2 separate regions of the Homo sapiens genome follow, and region 1 is linked to region 2. The links are contacts of gene promoters, found by promoter capture Hi-C in human tissues and cell types (Jung and others, 2019). All regions are on one chromosome and are shown on one strand. The core of a region is centred on a gene start or on the middle of the fragment in contact, and the rest is flanking DNA. Distances in the headings are between cores, read along the strand shown. Region 1 has its middle 110 kb from the start of MYCNUT. Region 2 holds the start of MYCN (MYCN proto-oncogene, bHLH transcription factor).

Region 1 (7,849 bases), core at 4,040-6,539, 130 kb after region 2:
TCATGATGTGTGCTTGGTTCTATGAGGAGAGATGTTCATGTATTTATCTTATTCTACAAAAAGATCTCCTGGAAGTAGAGTTACTCAACTTTTCAATGAGGCACCTGAAGCTCTGAGGCTGGGTGCTTGGGCAGGCACAGCAGGTGGGGCTGGCCTCAAGCTTTCGCCACTTTCCTTGTGTCTTGCTGTCTCCTCTAAAGGGGTTTCTAGCTCCCAGGGTGAAAGGTGGCTGCGGGTGGCGCCGTCTCCCCACTCCGCTTCTCTGACTGCACCCACAACACGTTTTGCCTGGCCCACCCCTCCCTGGCAGAGAATGTGCAAAGGTGTCTTCCCTTCACCTAGAAGAGGGTGGCTCTCCCTGGAGATAGGAATCCTGTACCAGTATTGTCAGAAGCCTGTAAAGATGACCTGACCCAAATTTGTCATTTTTTCGAGGGGCGAGTTGAGTCTCAGAGAAGAGAAGGGACCATTTCGAAGACATGGCCAATCAGAGGCAGCCATACAGCTAGGCCCAAGTGTCCTGACTCCATGGCTAGTGGTCCTGTGACCACATCAATCTTCCTGCCTCCTAGAAACACATGGCTGCCAGGAAGGGATGGTTGGGGTGACTCCCCTCTCCCTGTTGTAGGGCAGCCCAGTCACTGTTGCTGTGATGGAGAAAAGGGCATGGGGTTTGGAACAAACCTGGCCTCCCTGCTGCATGGCCTTGGGCAAGTACTTCAGTCTCTAAGGCTCACTTATCAAATAGCCTTGAGCTGAATCTGTGGAGGAGAAAGAATGAAAAATGAATGTGCAAGCCTCTGGTGCACAGAGAGTGCTCAGTGAAGGTCAAAGCTCTTCAAAAGTGCTTCCTTTTCCTTTCATATAACATTTTTAGTGCCTCTTGTTTCACTCCCAAAGATCCTATCCCACTTCCCACACACGCACACCAATACGCCCATGCCATCAGTTTCAACTCCCCCCGTGTCCATGATGCCATGATGGTTCCTGTTTTGGGGAGTTCACCCTTGCTACTTAACTCAATTTTAAAAATTGTTTTTATTTCCAGTTACCTCTTCTGGGAAGCCTTCTGGGATTTCCAGCTCCCTTGAAATTATCTTCAAGGGGGAAAATGTCAACCAACAGGTTCAGCTTCTCTTTCTGGTTACAATTTTAAATAGCCAGCATCTTTCAACATTTGGTCACTCTGCCAACACAGAGCCCTAGTTATGTGGCAGGCATGATCATAGGTTACAGAGACAAATCAGGCATAGTCCTCCTCTCCAAGAGCTCCCGGTCTAGTGAGACAGAAAGGCATATAAGCAGTGATATGACGGAGTGGTAAGAGGTTGAAAGAGCAAATCAGCTAGGCTAGTACTAGCGGCTGTAACAAGTAATCCCCAATATGTCAGAGGTTTCCCACAGTAGAAGTTAATTTCTCACTCATGTCAGAGGCCAGTGCACATGTATCAGTTGGCAGGGGGCAGACTGTGGGGGTAGTCACTGCTGGAGAGTCAGGGAAAGTGTCCCCAGCAGGGGACAGAATGGCCAGCATTTAAGAGCGGACTGGTTAAGTCAGCTCAGGAGCTGGTTGAAATTAGAGCTAATGTGCTCAGTATGTCCCATCCAGAAAAAGCTAGTGATAGTCTTCGTTAGGGTGGAAATACACAATATTCATAGAAGACAATAAGGGGCACCTGTTGGGAAAATCTCTGCTTGGCTGTCTTGCCCCCTTTGCAGTTAGGTAATTTAGCATGATGAAGATAGTCATGTCTAGGAAACAACGCTATCTCTACTTTCAATCTTTCCAATGCATTCAGATGGAGTCTGAAAGACAATGCGCTAAGAAAGATGTGTCCAGTTCAGACCTGTAACATTTGCACAGGGGGGCTTGGGTAGAAGAACTGAGAGGTACATTTCCCCATAGGTGGCGAGCCTCCCACTGTGTGAGCAGGTGCTTAAAAGGTCAAAGAGCAACGAACAGAGTGTCCTGCTGGCCTTTAAAGATGGAAGAAACCGCTGACCATGTCGAGCCCAGGAACCAGAGATTCTGAGGCTAAATGAGACTTGAAGGTCACCTGGCCCAATCTCACCCATATCTGAATCCCTGAGTACAGCATTTTTCAGGATGGCTGCCCACTCTCAGATCAGGTCATCTCACAGCGACTGGACAGGCTGGTAAGCTCTCAGAGAAAGATTTCCTCCCAGTCAAGTAGAATCTGGCTCCTGGACCTTCCAACCACAGGCCCTCGTCCTACCTAGTAGACCCTCAGTTTGTCTTTGTCATTGTAGAGCTGAGGAAACAGAAGGAAGGAGGGACGTGCCCAAGTCACTCAGCAAACTCACGGCAGTGCTGGGAACGGGAACCAGCTCTCCTTCTACTCAGGATTGGCCTCTTCCCACTTCATTGTGTCAAATCTATTTACAAAAGAGAAAAACCAAAGGGTTTGTGTTTCTTCCAACTTGGTTTTGAATCTCGGAGGTTTTCCTGGTGAGACAGAAGGCACGTGGGAGGCTGGAGGAGGGGCTCTGCTTCTCCAGGGGACTGGAGGTGTCAGGGAAATGTGACATGAGGAAACACATTTGCACAGAAGGAAAATGGGGGAAAGGGAGCAATTTTCAAACCTTCAAGCAATTAGGAAAAAAGGCATCTCCGGAAATAAAAAATGACCCTTTCAGGAATGTTCTTTCAGAGAGTGAACAAGAAGCCCACACATCTATTACATAAACTAAATAGTCATTTTACCTGATTTTCTGCATAATTGATGGGGATATCAACATAATCACTCTGGATTCATTAACAGGTCTTGAAAACTAGTTTTAACACTTGCAACACACTAAAAAAATAAAATATAATATAATAAAGCAGGAAAGATAATCCTCCTGGAAGGAATTCATTTCAATGCCCCACAAACGGGCCTGCACAGATAACAGTTCCCTTGGAAAACTGCATGTCTCACTCAGCAATGTTTACGTCTGCCCCACGCCACCGCACAGGATGAATCCACACCCCCCCCCCCACCCGGTTTGATGTTGAGCTGCCAAGGCTTTCTGTCTGGGGTGCTCAGAGAGCTGCTCCTCCAAGACAGTCCGACTATACCCAGGACTGGGGCAGGGAATGAAAGGCCGGCTGCAGAGGAGATGGCTCACTTCAGGAGAAGCAGCGGGCAGATCTCCAGGTTCTGGAGATGGGGAGCTGAACTCTGAGCTGCCATGCACTTGCTGAGTGATCTCTGGCCTCAGTTTCCTCCTCTATGAAATGAGTCAAGTTCAATACCCACTTCTTGAAATTATACATGTGAAATGCTTAGCACATGGTCAGTGCTTACAGAAATGGCCTATTATTATTCTGTGCAGATACCTTCCCTTCCCAGGAAGAGCTCCCAGGCATTGGAAAAGCAGAGCATTAAGTGCTCTGTAGGAGAACCTGGAAATAGAAGCGGCACCACACAAAGGAGAGGTGACTGCTTCTCTCTGGAAGGGAGGGAGTTCGCTGAGATGGCTCCACTCAGATGGGACTTTGAGGATAGACTAGAGGAAGTGGGAGGACATTCCAGGCAGAAGGACTGGTTTGTACAAAGGCTCAGAGGGAGGAAACCGCAGGGCCAGTATGGAGACCTGCTGTGAGGTCAGCAGAGCTGGTGCATGAGGAGCAAAGGGTGGGGTGAGGCTCATTCCTTGAGACAAGAGAGGAAGGCTGGGTCTTGCCCTGCATGGTACCCAAAGGTGATGTCCACAGGAGTGCTTCACCTGCTCTGCAGAGCAGGGCCTGGCCTCTGCAAGGGAGTCCTCCTGGGAGCCCCAGAGCCTGGGAGCTGGCAAGAGCACTGAGCTGTGGCGAAAGCCCACCCCCATCCCCACCCCCACTGCCCCTCATGGTCTGAGGAGTCGGCCTGGCTTTACAGTTGCCCAAGAAACAAGTCTAGTTGCCCAGGTTAGAGGTCTGGCTCTATGGCAAAGCAAACAGAAGTTGCAAAACACCCAAGTGCTTGGAATGCTGGTTGCAGGGCCCCGGGGGAGCACTTGGGAACCAGTGGTTGCAAATGTAGATGGGGATGCTGGAGACAAAGATGGGGAAGGCCTTGAGTGTGGCCCCAAAGGGAATTGGCGACAAATTCAGACAGAAAACTATGAACCAGGTCTCCTAGGTTCTGGGACAGTGCTTTTTCAGTTGCAGTTTGCTACCTCTCAGCCAGCGCCATTGTGCTGCCCAGCTCCAGGGCGCCATGCTTCCAATAGACCATGTGAAGAGCAGACCTGGAGTTGTGCAGGGCACAGCTTGCATGGCCATACACAGCAGCCCCACACCCGGCATCCAGCTGTCCAGATGGTTAGAGCTTGACCCTTCTCCAGGGAGTGATTCTGACATTGTGTGGACACAGAACCTGATGCCAACAGCCATCCACAGGAGCTCAGAACTCATTTAGTCCAGGGTCAGTAACTATGGTGCATATATGAAGCCTTTGCTCCACCCTAACCAGTCCATGGCTGGGTAATCAATGCAAATGTTCCTGCTGATCCAGGAACCCACCAATTCTTCTCAAAACAGTGTCCAGCATGGCCATTGCTAATTCCTCATTTGAAATGTATTCATATTTATTCAGTGCCAGGCTCTACTCTCAGTGCCACTTGGAGTTGTCCTCAACGCAGTACGTAAGTTCTGATCTGTCAGCTCAGTGTCCACATGAGAAGTCTGCTGGTTAGTGGATCCCCATCTGCAGACTCCAATTCTCTTTTCCATCCAACATGATGCCTTTCAACCTCCCTATTCTTTCAACACTGCAGCTAAACTGTAGGCAGCAGAGAAATCTCAACCCTAAGAGAGACTTTGCTTTTCTCAAGTTTCTTGTCATTTGCACCTCAAAGGCCACAAAAACTAGCCAAATCCTCCCTGCCAGTCCAGATTCCCTTATCATTTACAAACAAATTTGCATGTGGTGGCTCAGCCAGCAGTCGCAGAGCCTAAATCTGAGCCAGGTCCTTGTCCACAGCCTGTTGTCTCTGGCCACGCCCTACTGCCTTTCCAGGCTGACTGAGAAACTGCAGCCCTGTGCTCATCACGCTGCCATTCATCTCGGATTTGTCAACGTGGATTTCAATTTTAAGCTTTTTCCTTCAAAATATCCTGCTTGCATTTGGCATTGGCTTCTGCAACTGTGCAGTTTGAGAACAATATGAAAATCAGCATTTCATCAAGCTGTAACGCTTGTTAAATGAGATCTTGAAGTCCCTAGAATTATTCTTCCAGAATCGAGTGGAACAAAAGATGCCTGAATTTTAAACATTCAGTTTGAAAAAAAAAAAAAAGAACTGAAATGTGTACACGTCCTTGAATTTCTAAAAACTAAGCCCAAGCAGGGACAGTTGGGGGATTTTCCATCCTGTGAGATTTTCGTAGTGGAATTAACCTCATTACAAGAGCGCAGTGAGTGTGGGGCGGGGAGGAAAGGGGGGTGAAGGTGGGGCTCCTGGTGTGTGGCTCTGGACAGACATCTCTCCTTCTCTGGGTCCACATTTTCCATCAGTCCTATGAGGGATGGACCAGGTGCCCTCTCTGTTTCCTCCCACCTGTGACTGTCGGTGCATGTGGCCTCCAATTCATCACAATTTGCACTTGAGACAAAGTGATCTGTCTATCCCGAGTGCACCCTCTCTGCATTCATCACAGCTTCTCCTCCTTCCAGAAATTCAGTCTCATGTTCATCTGCAGGGATACCCCAGGAGTAGCTTGATAATCATCAAGAGCATTCAGCCCAAACCACAACTACCCATCCCAGGCCTATGGAGGGAGACCTCCATGCCCCAAGGGAGGCTGGAAGCCTTAAAACCTCTCTAGGCTGGGTGTGGTGGCTTACAACTATAATCCCAGATACTCAGGAGGCTGAGGAGGGAGGATCACTTGAGCCCGGGAGGTTGATGCTGCAGTGAGCTATGATGGCGCCACTGCACTCCAGCCTGGACAACAGCAAGACCGTGCCTCTAAGAAAAAAAAAAAGAAACAACTACCTCTCCAGCCCACTGCCCCACAGGAATGCGAGGCATCTCCTGGCCTGCCTCCTTCCAGCGGAGGAGGGCCTGCAGGAGGCACAGGCAGCCCATCCAGCCCCTCCAGAGAATCCACGCCTGAGATCAGGGACCTGCTTCCTGGGTGGATCTCAGCCAACTAAGTCAAGGGCGGCTGGACAGTCCATGACTCTACCATATAGACCTAAAAGAAATGTGACTCCGGAGAAGTCATTTCCCAGGAAAATGCATTGAAACTTCCCCTTCCCCCCCACCAGGCTCCTCCTCCGAGGGCATATGGGAGAAAGGAGTGAGGAAAGAAGGGAAGGCCACAGACCTGTCCAGTACCCTAGTGGGAGGTGTCCTGAGACCTTGAATAACCTCCTGTCTTCCCAGGTACCCTCCACCATTATTTGGCAGAATCTGATGATGTGTTCATACCCTAAGCCTTCTCCAGCTCTTTGGAAAACAATTCACGGTTTGATCTCTTCTGCAGACATTTTTTCCCTGGCCTCCTGCTCTGTTCCAGATGTAGGGCCCTGAACTGAAGGCAAAGGCCTTGAGAACAGTGGCCCATGCCCCGGGGAGCTCTCTGTTCCCCCCTCACACCCTCCATCAAGGGCAGAGTCCCAGCCAAGCTTCGGGGCCAGTACATTCTTATCTTGGAAACTTGTAATGTGCTCTCAGGCTCAAAGACTAGCTGGGGTGGGTGGTGGGGGTGCTGGACCCACAGCAGCTATAGACTGACAGGGAAACAATGCCCGACACCGGGCCCTTCCCACATGCCCTGCTGAGGACCGACCTGAGTTTCTGAGGCGCCTCTGCCGGGCCCTGTGTGGAGGGAGGAGGCAGAGAATGGGTGACGGGACCCTGGACAAGCCAAAGCGGTGAGTGGGGCTCACACTGGAACAGGCAGAATTGGTCACTGGGGGGAGTGAGGGGATGGGGAGAGACTGGAATCATATTATTAAAAAGGGATTTCCAGAAGCTTTGCCAAGCATGAAGAATGCAGACTCCCTTCAGACACGGAAGGCAAGATTCTATTGCTTGTAAATTATTGTGGATGCTGGACTGGTGTTTGTGGAGCAGAGACCGGGTCTCAAGGCAGCTTAGCCTTGGTTATATTCAGTCCTAGGCTCTAGGTATAACTAGACGCATCTTATTCTCCCCAACCCGTCACCTGCCACGATGAGCCTCTTAGGGGCAGACTTCGCGTCTTGCTCTGTCTCTGATGCGTCCTCGCCACCGAGGCCCCACGCATGTGTTTTGAGGGAGCATAGGCTGAGAGAAGAGGCCAAGGGAGGGGCTGCAGCCAGGCAGGCTCTGCGAGCTCTTCTCCCGATCATTTCCGTCTTCTCACTGGCCCATAGGTGTCTAACCCCCTAGCACATGCTAGAGCTCTGTCTTAAGAGATGACTTGGAAAGACAGATGGGGAGGGAGGAGATGGGGAACCCAGTAGGCACTGATATGACTGTCCCAAACTCCTCAACACTGGCCCTCGGTGGGGCTGAGCCACGAGGAGCAAGAGGGCAAGAGGGCAAGAGGAAAGAGGAGGGCAGGAGGCAGGAGGTGAAGGAGAGAGGAAGACCGGGGAAGAGGAGAGGGAATGTCACACGCAGAGAGGAGGAAGAGGAGAGGCGGAGGGATGAGGAAGGCCCAGGAGAGGCAGAATGAGGCAGAAGGCACGGCCCAGGGCCCCGCTCCTTATTTCATTGGCCAAATACGCAAGAGCTTTCAACACGGCTGCTACTTGAGGCAGCATTTCCTCCAACTCTCTTTCTTGTTTTGAGGCAGAGACCAGGCTGTCTCCCCACCCACCTCATCAGCATTCCAGGTGATCTGTAAGAGGAGGCCGCTGGGAGGACC
Region 2 (7,095 bases), core at 2,976-5,475:
CTATTAAATGGGGATGATACCACTTTGACAGATAACATGTAGACTTAGCATAGAGCTGAGCCTAGTAGACAGATGCTCAGTAAATGGTAGCTTTTATCATAATCACCAGTCTGCCCTGTGGACTTATTTACATTTCTAGCTCCACACTTAAAGAGTTGAGGCCTCTCATTTTAGGAGCCTCATTTAGCAGTTTACACATGGTTGTGTTTGATTTTAAGTCCTTAAACAAACTTGAGGAACAATTTAATTAACTGAAGAAAAAAAACAACTTTTCGTCCACAAACCTGAGTTTTATACAATAAACAGTTTTTCATTTAACAAAGATCAAATCTTAATGACAAAGCCATAATCCACAGTTGGTATAAACCCCCAAATGGGAGCAGCTCTCCTCAAAGCCACCAATAATAACAGCAACAACAGAAACGTGTAGCATCATGTGCGCATTCTTCCCCTCTCTCCTCATTGACTACCACGCTGGGGTAGAAAATTATTGTTTAAAATACAAGCATGAAAATCAAAACATATCTTCTGCTTGATCTGAAGGGGACCGGAAAGCTGAACAATTGTGGGATTTGTTCTAAAGCCGAAATGTGAGGCTGTTCCAGTCTGTGGGTCCCTTTAAGCCAATGTTTTGGTTTTCTGCCAAGAAGACAGCTGTTGGAAGGAAGTGCTTCCTCACCAAAAGCTGTCAAGGCACAGACATTAAAGGGACAGAGCCGTTTCAAACTGGAGGCTTATCACCAAGTTTCCTTCCAGGAGCCTCAAAGATCTCTCCTCAGCCCAGAAGTAAATTTAGGCTTGTTATCCACCTGCATTCTGAAAACACTGGTTTTCAAAGTCCAAGGGGGGTCCCAGCTCCCTGCTCCAAGGACAAGGCAATGCCACTCTTTGGGTTGAGTTCTGTTCATCCAGACCCCCAGGGAAAGGCTTGGTTTTAACTCTTCCCTTCAGCTTAAGACACAGACAAATGAACACAATAGAACTAATCAGTGAGTCCTCCCAGGATGTGAGCCTTCCTGGAGAGGCTGCTGAGTGCCTGCCCTCACCTTCAAGGGCACTGGGTTACAGATACAACTCACATCTCAAATTAGGCCTGGAATTCAGGCTGGAAGACAAAACTACAGCCAGTTTCCACTGCACACTGGAAAGAGGAGGCCCCCTGAGAATGTACACAACTGCTGTTGCACTTGCAGCCAGCTGCTGAATGGAGGGAGGGAGGGTGCCCCCACCACCCCCAGCCTTTCAGATCCCGGGCCCGCCTGCTGGCCTCGCATATCGCCGCCTGCTGGCCACGCACCAGGAGCAAATAGCCCACCACCCACCGAGGATGGGGGAAGGGAAAGGTACCGACATTTGAAAAAAAAAAAAAAAGAAAAAGAAAAAGAATAGAAAATCGGCTCTAGCCATCTGTGCAACCCTCCTATAAGTTCCTGCGCCTTAAACAGGGCTTTGCACAGCCCTTGAATCTTCTCGGGATGTCTTTCCCTCCCCTGACCTGGGCCAGAGAGTCCCTTTCACCCCTGCGCTAACAGGTTTCTGTCCAGGCAGTGCACCCAGCAACCCCCTAAACCCCCACCCGGTTTAGCCACCAACTTTCTCCAATTTTATTCCTCAGACTGCGCTGCAAAAGAGAGGTGGGGGACCGGGTGAGGGCCCGTGATGGCCTAGAGGAGGGCTCCCCAGGAGAGGGTGGAAGGAACTTTAGTGAAGGCGAGAATTGGAGAGCACCCCTTTTGCAACGGCATTCTCTCAGCCCCTTCTCTTTACCCCGAGGAGAGACTTGGGGGAAACAGGACCTCTCTGCCCCTAGCACTGCCTCCAAAATGCTCCCCAGGCCAAGACATACGAGCACTAACAAAGGGGACGCGACCCGGGGTCCAGTGCCCCAGGGAGGCAGCCGGACCCGAGTTCGGTCTTTACCTGAATCGCTCAGGGTGTCCTCTCCGGAGGTACTGAGGGCCTTGTGGTCGCCGCCGCTGGTCTGGCGGCCGCCTGGGCGCGGAGGGGCGACCCCCGGGGCCCCGGCTGGGGCGGCAATACCCGCCCCCGAGGCGACCGCAGGGCCCGCCGCCGGGGCACTGGCCGGGGCTGCGGGCACGGGCGCTGGCTCGCGCTTGTTCACGGGAAAGGGGAAGACCACGGCGGGATCCACGCACTCGGCGGCCGGGTGGGCGAGCTCGGCGGGCAGGGCGGCCCCGGCGCGGCCGGCTCCCGCAGCCCCGCCGTGCCCGCGACCCGCAGGGCTGGCGGCGCCGGCTCCCGGGGACTGGGCGGTGGAACCGGCGGTTGGCGGCCCGCGGCCGTGCTGCAGCTTCTCGCTCACGGCGCGCTCCAGCTTCTCGCGGGCGGAGAAGCCGCTCCACATGCAGTCCTGGAGGATGACCGGGTTGGGGGTGAGGCCACCCAGTCCCCCCAGGCCGAACGCGTCCTCCTCGGCCGGGCTGCCCCACAGCTCGTTCTCAAGCAGCATCTCCGTGACCCAGCTCGGGGGCTCGGAGCTGTGCTCCGCGAAGCCACGGCTGGGCGACAGCGGGGGCGTGGGCAGCAGCTCAAACTTCTTCCAGATGTCCTCCCCCGGGGGGGTCGAGTCGGGGCCGCCGAAGTAGAAGTCATCTTCGTCCGGGTAGAAGCAGGGCTGTAGCGAGTCAAACTCGAGGTCTGGGTTCTTGCAGATCATGCCCGGCATGGTGGACGTGGAGCAGCTCGGCATCGGCTCGCCTCCCGGCCGGCGACTGAGGGCTTCTTTCCGCCCCGTTCGTTTTAATACCGGGGGTGCTTCCTTCCCGTGGGGGGCGCGGAAGGCGGGGGCCGGCGCCGACCTCCAACACTGCAACCGACAGACACACCGGAGAGGGTGGGCAAACGGGGCAGACCGAGGGGATAGGCAATGGGCGCCCCCTCTAACCAGGTTCCCCAATCTTCCCTCCAAGCCCCCCACTCTGCCCACTGCTCCCGAAGGTGGAGGAAGTTGTGCCTCTCGCTCCCTCCCTCCCGCCCTCCTTTTGTGTACAAGCTGTCTACGACAGGGGGTGGGAGGGGGCATGCAGATGCAGGGGGTGGTGGCGAGGCTCCGCAACTTTGGAAACTGCCATTTCATTCACACAAGGCACTGCCTGGGGGAGGGGGCTGTTCCTGGCTGCAGAATTCTAGCTCTCACGAGCACGCAGACAACCGCACTCGCAGCGGTGTGGGGCCGGCTGCTCAGGGGAAGCCCCAGGCTCTCCGACCCAGCTACCGGGAATGGTATTTGGAGTACCTTCTACCCCCTTTGTAAAAATGCAACCTCAGGAGTGCAAATGATAGCAGGGGATTTAGAAAACTTTGCAAATAAAAAAAAGCCTTTCTCTAGACAGAGACCAACAACAGACACCCATATCCACAAATCCTTCCCCTCCCCAAATTTGAGCAAACGCCCCTCGGCATTCACCCGCTGCAGGGATACTCCTGCCAATAGCTTAATTGGAAGCTCTCTAAGCCCACCCCTGCTCTTCCAAACCCACGACAACGTCCTCTTCCAGGGAGGGAGAGGCTGAGCCCCTGTTCCCGGGAATGGCAGGGGCGCCCGCGCGAGGAGGGTCGCCGGGAGAGCCGCCTCTCCTCCAAGCTGGAGCAGCCGTGACCCAGATTGCGACCGCGGCGGCCTCGCCCTGCCTAATCCCCCCCTCTTCTTCCTCCAGGGGCACCCTTTGGAGAAGAACCCCAGCCTGGGGTGGGGACGCACCGGCTCTCCGACAGCTCAAACACAGACAGATCTTCTAGAGCCGAGGGAATTTCTTTTCGCAGAAGCCATTACTCCCCCCGGTAAGGGCTGCAAAAGGATTAGGGCGGGTCTCCTCTAGCCAGGATGCCTTCGGGGCTGGAACTGGCTTTTCTGGGAAAACCCAGAGATGGTTTTGTTTCGGAAGCAGAAACAGTCCCCCGGGCATATTAGGGCGCCCGGTGCGCACGTCGCAATCCCGTCCAGGGCTTGCCTTGCCCCGGCGCTCGTCGCTTCCCTGGGCGCCGGGCGGTTTGCAAGCCCTGCTCCTTACCTCCCGCCGACTGCAGGGGATCCGGAGGCGATTCTGCGCGGGTGTCTCCGGGTGGGCCGGGGGGGCGGGGGTGTCCTCGGATGGCTACAGTCTGTGCGCGCTTGCGCCTGGCTAGCGCTTGCTCGGCTCCAACACAGTTCCCAGGAGCCCCCCGCATCCACCCAGCGCGTCCAGACAGATGACTGTCACAGCCTGCGCTTTGAAGCTCGGGGGATATTATTAACTGAAAAATCTGACACACCCGGGGGGCGGGGAGAGAAGGGGGCTGTGGCGCAGACAAGGGGGAGGGAGAAAGGAGAGGAAAGCGGCTTTACCCCGCCCTCCTGATTTCCATAAAAATCAGGGGAGGCGCCAAGGCTTTCGCGCCAAAAGCCACTTGCTTTTCTTTGCAGAGAGAAGGCTGCAAAGCTGGGAAGCCCAGGGTGTGCTCCTCCCGCCCTTTTGGACCCCCGGGCTTGCACCGGCTGCACTCTGAGAACCAGCTGCGCGCGGAGCGGTGCAATGCAGCACCCACCCTGCGAGCCTGGCAATTGCTTGTCATTAAAAGAAAAAAAAATTACGGAGGGCTCCGGGGGTGTGTGTTGGGGAGGGGAGACCGATGCTTCTAACCCAGCCCCCGCTTTGACTGCGTGTTGTGCAGCTGAGCGCGAGGCCAACGTTGAGCAAGGCCTTGCAGGGAGGTTGCTCCTGTGTAATTACGAAAGAAGGCTAGTCCGAAGGTGCAAAATAGCAGGGAGAGGACGCGCCCCCTTAGGAACAAGACCTCTGGATGTTTCCAGTTTCAAATTGAAAGAAGAGGGGCGCCCCCCTTGTTTGAAAATAAATAAATAAATAAGTGCGAGCTACGAGGGTGGCGCCGCGGTGGTTTCTTCGGCCGAAGGCGACACCTCGCGGAGACTGAGCAGAAAGCGGAGCTGCCCGGCCTTGGCGCGGACCTGGAGTGCGGCCACTCCGCAGGTCTCCCGCCGCCCCCGCGGGACTGTCCACGCGTCCTCACCACTGCGGAGGAGGAGGCGGCCTGGCTCTGCTTCCTAGGGGGAATGGGCGTACGTTCCCTGCAGCCGTCCCCAGGGCTCCCAAGTTAACCTTTTCAAAGCCACCATTCTCCCCAGTTATGGGCAGGCGAATCTGATTTACCGAGATGGAAGTGCTGTCCACACCTCCTGAGACCCAGCCTCGGCTCAAACAGCTTGATTCCAAACTGTTGAAGGGAAAAAGGAAAGCTGCTGTCACTACTTCGTTTCTTTGTGCCTCAGTTTCCTCAATTGTGAAATGGAGTTCGTAGTGCCTCCTACCTGAGAGTTATGAAAGCTCTTATAAGTCCCCAGCCCATAATAGTTGTGTCAGCTATTATTATGATGATGACCACGACATGCTATTCTTCTGGGGAAAATAACACCCCTCTGTCCAGCAGCAGCATTGGCCCCTTCCCTTCCCGCCACCATCAAATCCTGGCTTTACTTCACTCTGGTCTAGCTTTTCTTACAGGTGTATTTGTTTGCAGGGGGTCAGACATTATTGCCCCTGCCCTCCAAACTCTCCAAAAACAACCCTGATCTCCTGGACAGCCCCCTTCACAACCAAATACACAGTGAGGTGGGATTTTGCCTTGAAAAACATTCCTTAGGCTTGTTTGGAGAGAGGGGAACCTGGCCCTGGGATTGGGGTGGGAAGGCTTCCCCGCCTCTCCCTACTTTTTTCTCCAAACTGGAAATGCCATTCTCCATCGCCCCCACCTCTTCACCTCACCATTGGATCTAGTTAAGGAGGAGGATGCTGAGGGTCAGGGGGCAACCCATAAAATGCTCACAGATTAGCATTTGTGAAGGCCTTTCCAGCCCTGACCCTGGACGCCTACAGAGCTCTAGGGAGAAAGATTCCCAGAGTTCTAGGAAGAGGCCCATGAATGCGGATGAGCAGCCCTTCCAAGCACCTTTATTATTGTTATTTCCCTCACAAATGTAAAAGCCTTCATCTTTGCAAAAGCCTTTTACAGCCCCACTTCTGCTTTTCCCTAGCCCCCTAATCGCCACCAAGCCCTCCTGCTGAATTCTCGCCTAGCATCCTGTCCTTTCCTGTCCAGCACTCACCTCCATTTGTAATGATCCATGCCTGGGAGTATTTGTTTAGTGCTCACTTCCGTGACACTGTGGAAGACAGGCTCAGTCTCCCTCACTAACCTGTGACCTGGGTCAGTTTTGCTCCAGAGGGAATCCTTACGGCACAGCAGTGTACCTGTATATAGTAAGTACTCATGGTATTATTCAAGACCAAGATCACTGAATGAGTCCTTCTAAGGTGGCCAGATCTTCTGTGGCAAGACTGTGAAAATAGGCCAGGATGGGTTCAGTTGCTCCGATTCAAAGTCCTACCTTTGTCCTTTCTCCTCAGATGAATGACCATCACTAGGTCATTCACCCTTTGTCGAGGGACAAGGTGTAGCAGAAAAGGGGGACAGAGGGACAGGAGACCTGGTTACTCTACATGCCTTTGAGCAAATCATTTATACTTCCTGGACCTCAATCTCTAATCTCCTGCTTTTAATGCAAGCCAGTAATTACTGACAAGTCTGAATCTGAAGGTTAACAGAATGATAAAATTCAACAAATATTTATTGGTTACCTTCATTTGTAAGTAGAAAGATAAAAGACTTTGTACATGGAGAAAACATGCTAATGCTGATTCTTAGTCTGCTTATAGAGAAGCCTGAAAATCCCTCTTAAAAATGTTGAAATACTTCAACTATGTGAACACACACAAAACAAATCTTCATATGGTTTCAAAGCCAAGGTTTTGTTCAGTACTGCCATGGTTTGAATGTGTCCTCCAAAAAAAAACACGTTGGAAGTTTAACCCCCAGTGCAACAGTGTTGGAGGGGAGGTCCCCAAATGCCAGTGGGACCTAGACCCCAGCCAGTGTCCAGGCTCTTGACACCATCAAGAGAATGAATTCAAAGACCAGTTGGAAAATAGTGAAAGTACGATTTATTGCAAAGGGAAAAGTACACACTCAAGAAAAGGGAATATGGGTGTACTCGAGAGACTCACACGAAAGGGGGTTTGG

What was found. Contacts are between HindIII fragments. The study calls those that stand out against the background at their distance.
Region 1: a contact is called between a fragment that was not itself captured here and the fragment with the promoter of MYCN in region 2, in 1 of the 25 tissues and cell types used here (H1 embryonic stem cells).

Annotation. Positions count from the first base shown.
Region 1 is chr2:15,809,755-15,817,603 of GRCh38, reverse strand. No RefSeq gene overlaps it. Among named protein-coding and RNA genes, the nearest start is that of MYCNUT, 110 kb to the left of the region's middle. RefSeq lists enhancers at 6,166-6,893, 7,622-7,849. The HindIII fragment of the contact is 5,331 bases long and covers 2,624-7,849 here.
Region 2 is chr2:15,937,680-15,944,774 of GRCh38, reverse strand. It overlaps MYCN (MYCN proto-oncogene, bHLH transcription factor), which reads right to left and starts at 4,225. Exons shown (of 3, transcript NM_005378.6): 1 at 4,032-4,225; 2 at 1,921-2,827. The coding sequence starts at 2,710. It overlaps MYCNOS (MYCN opposite strand), which reads left to right and starts at 3,090. Exons shown (of 4, transcript NR_110230.2): 1 at 3,090-3,243; 2 at 3,678-3,801; 3 at 6,050-6,275. RefSeq lists enhancers at 4,097-4,627, 5,672-6,229. The HindIII fragment of the contact is 20,661 bases long and covers 1-7,095 here.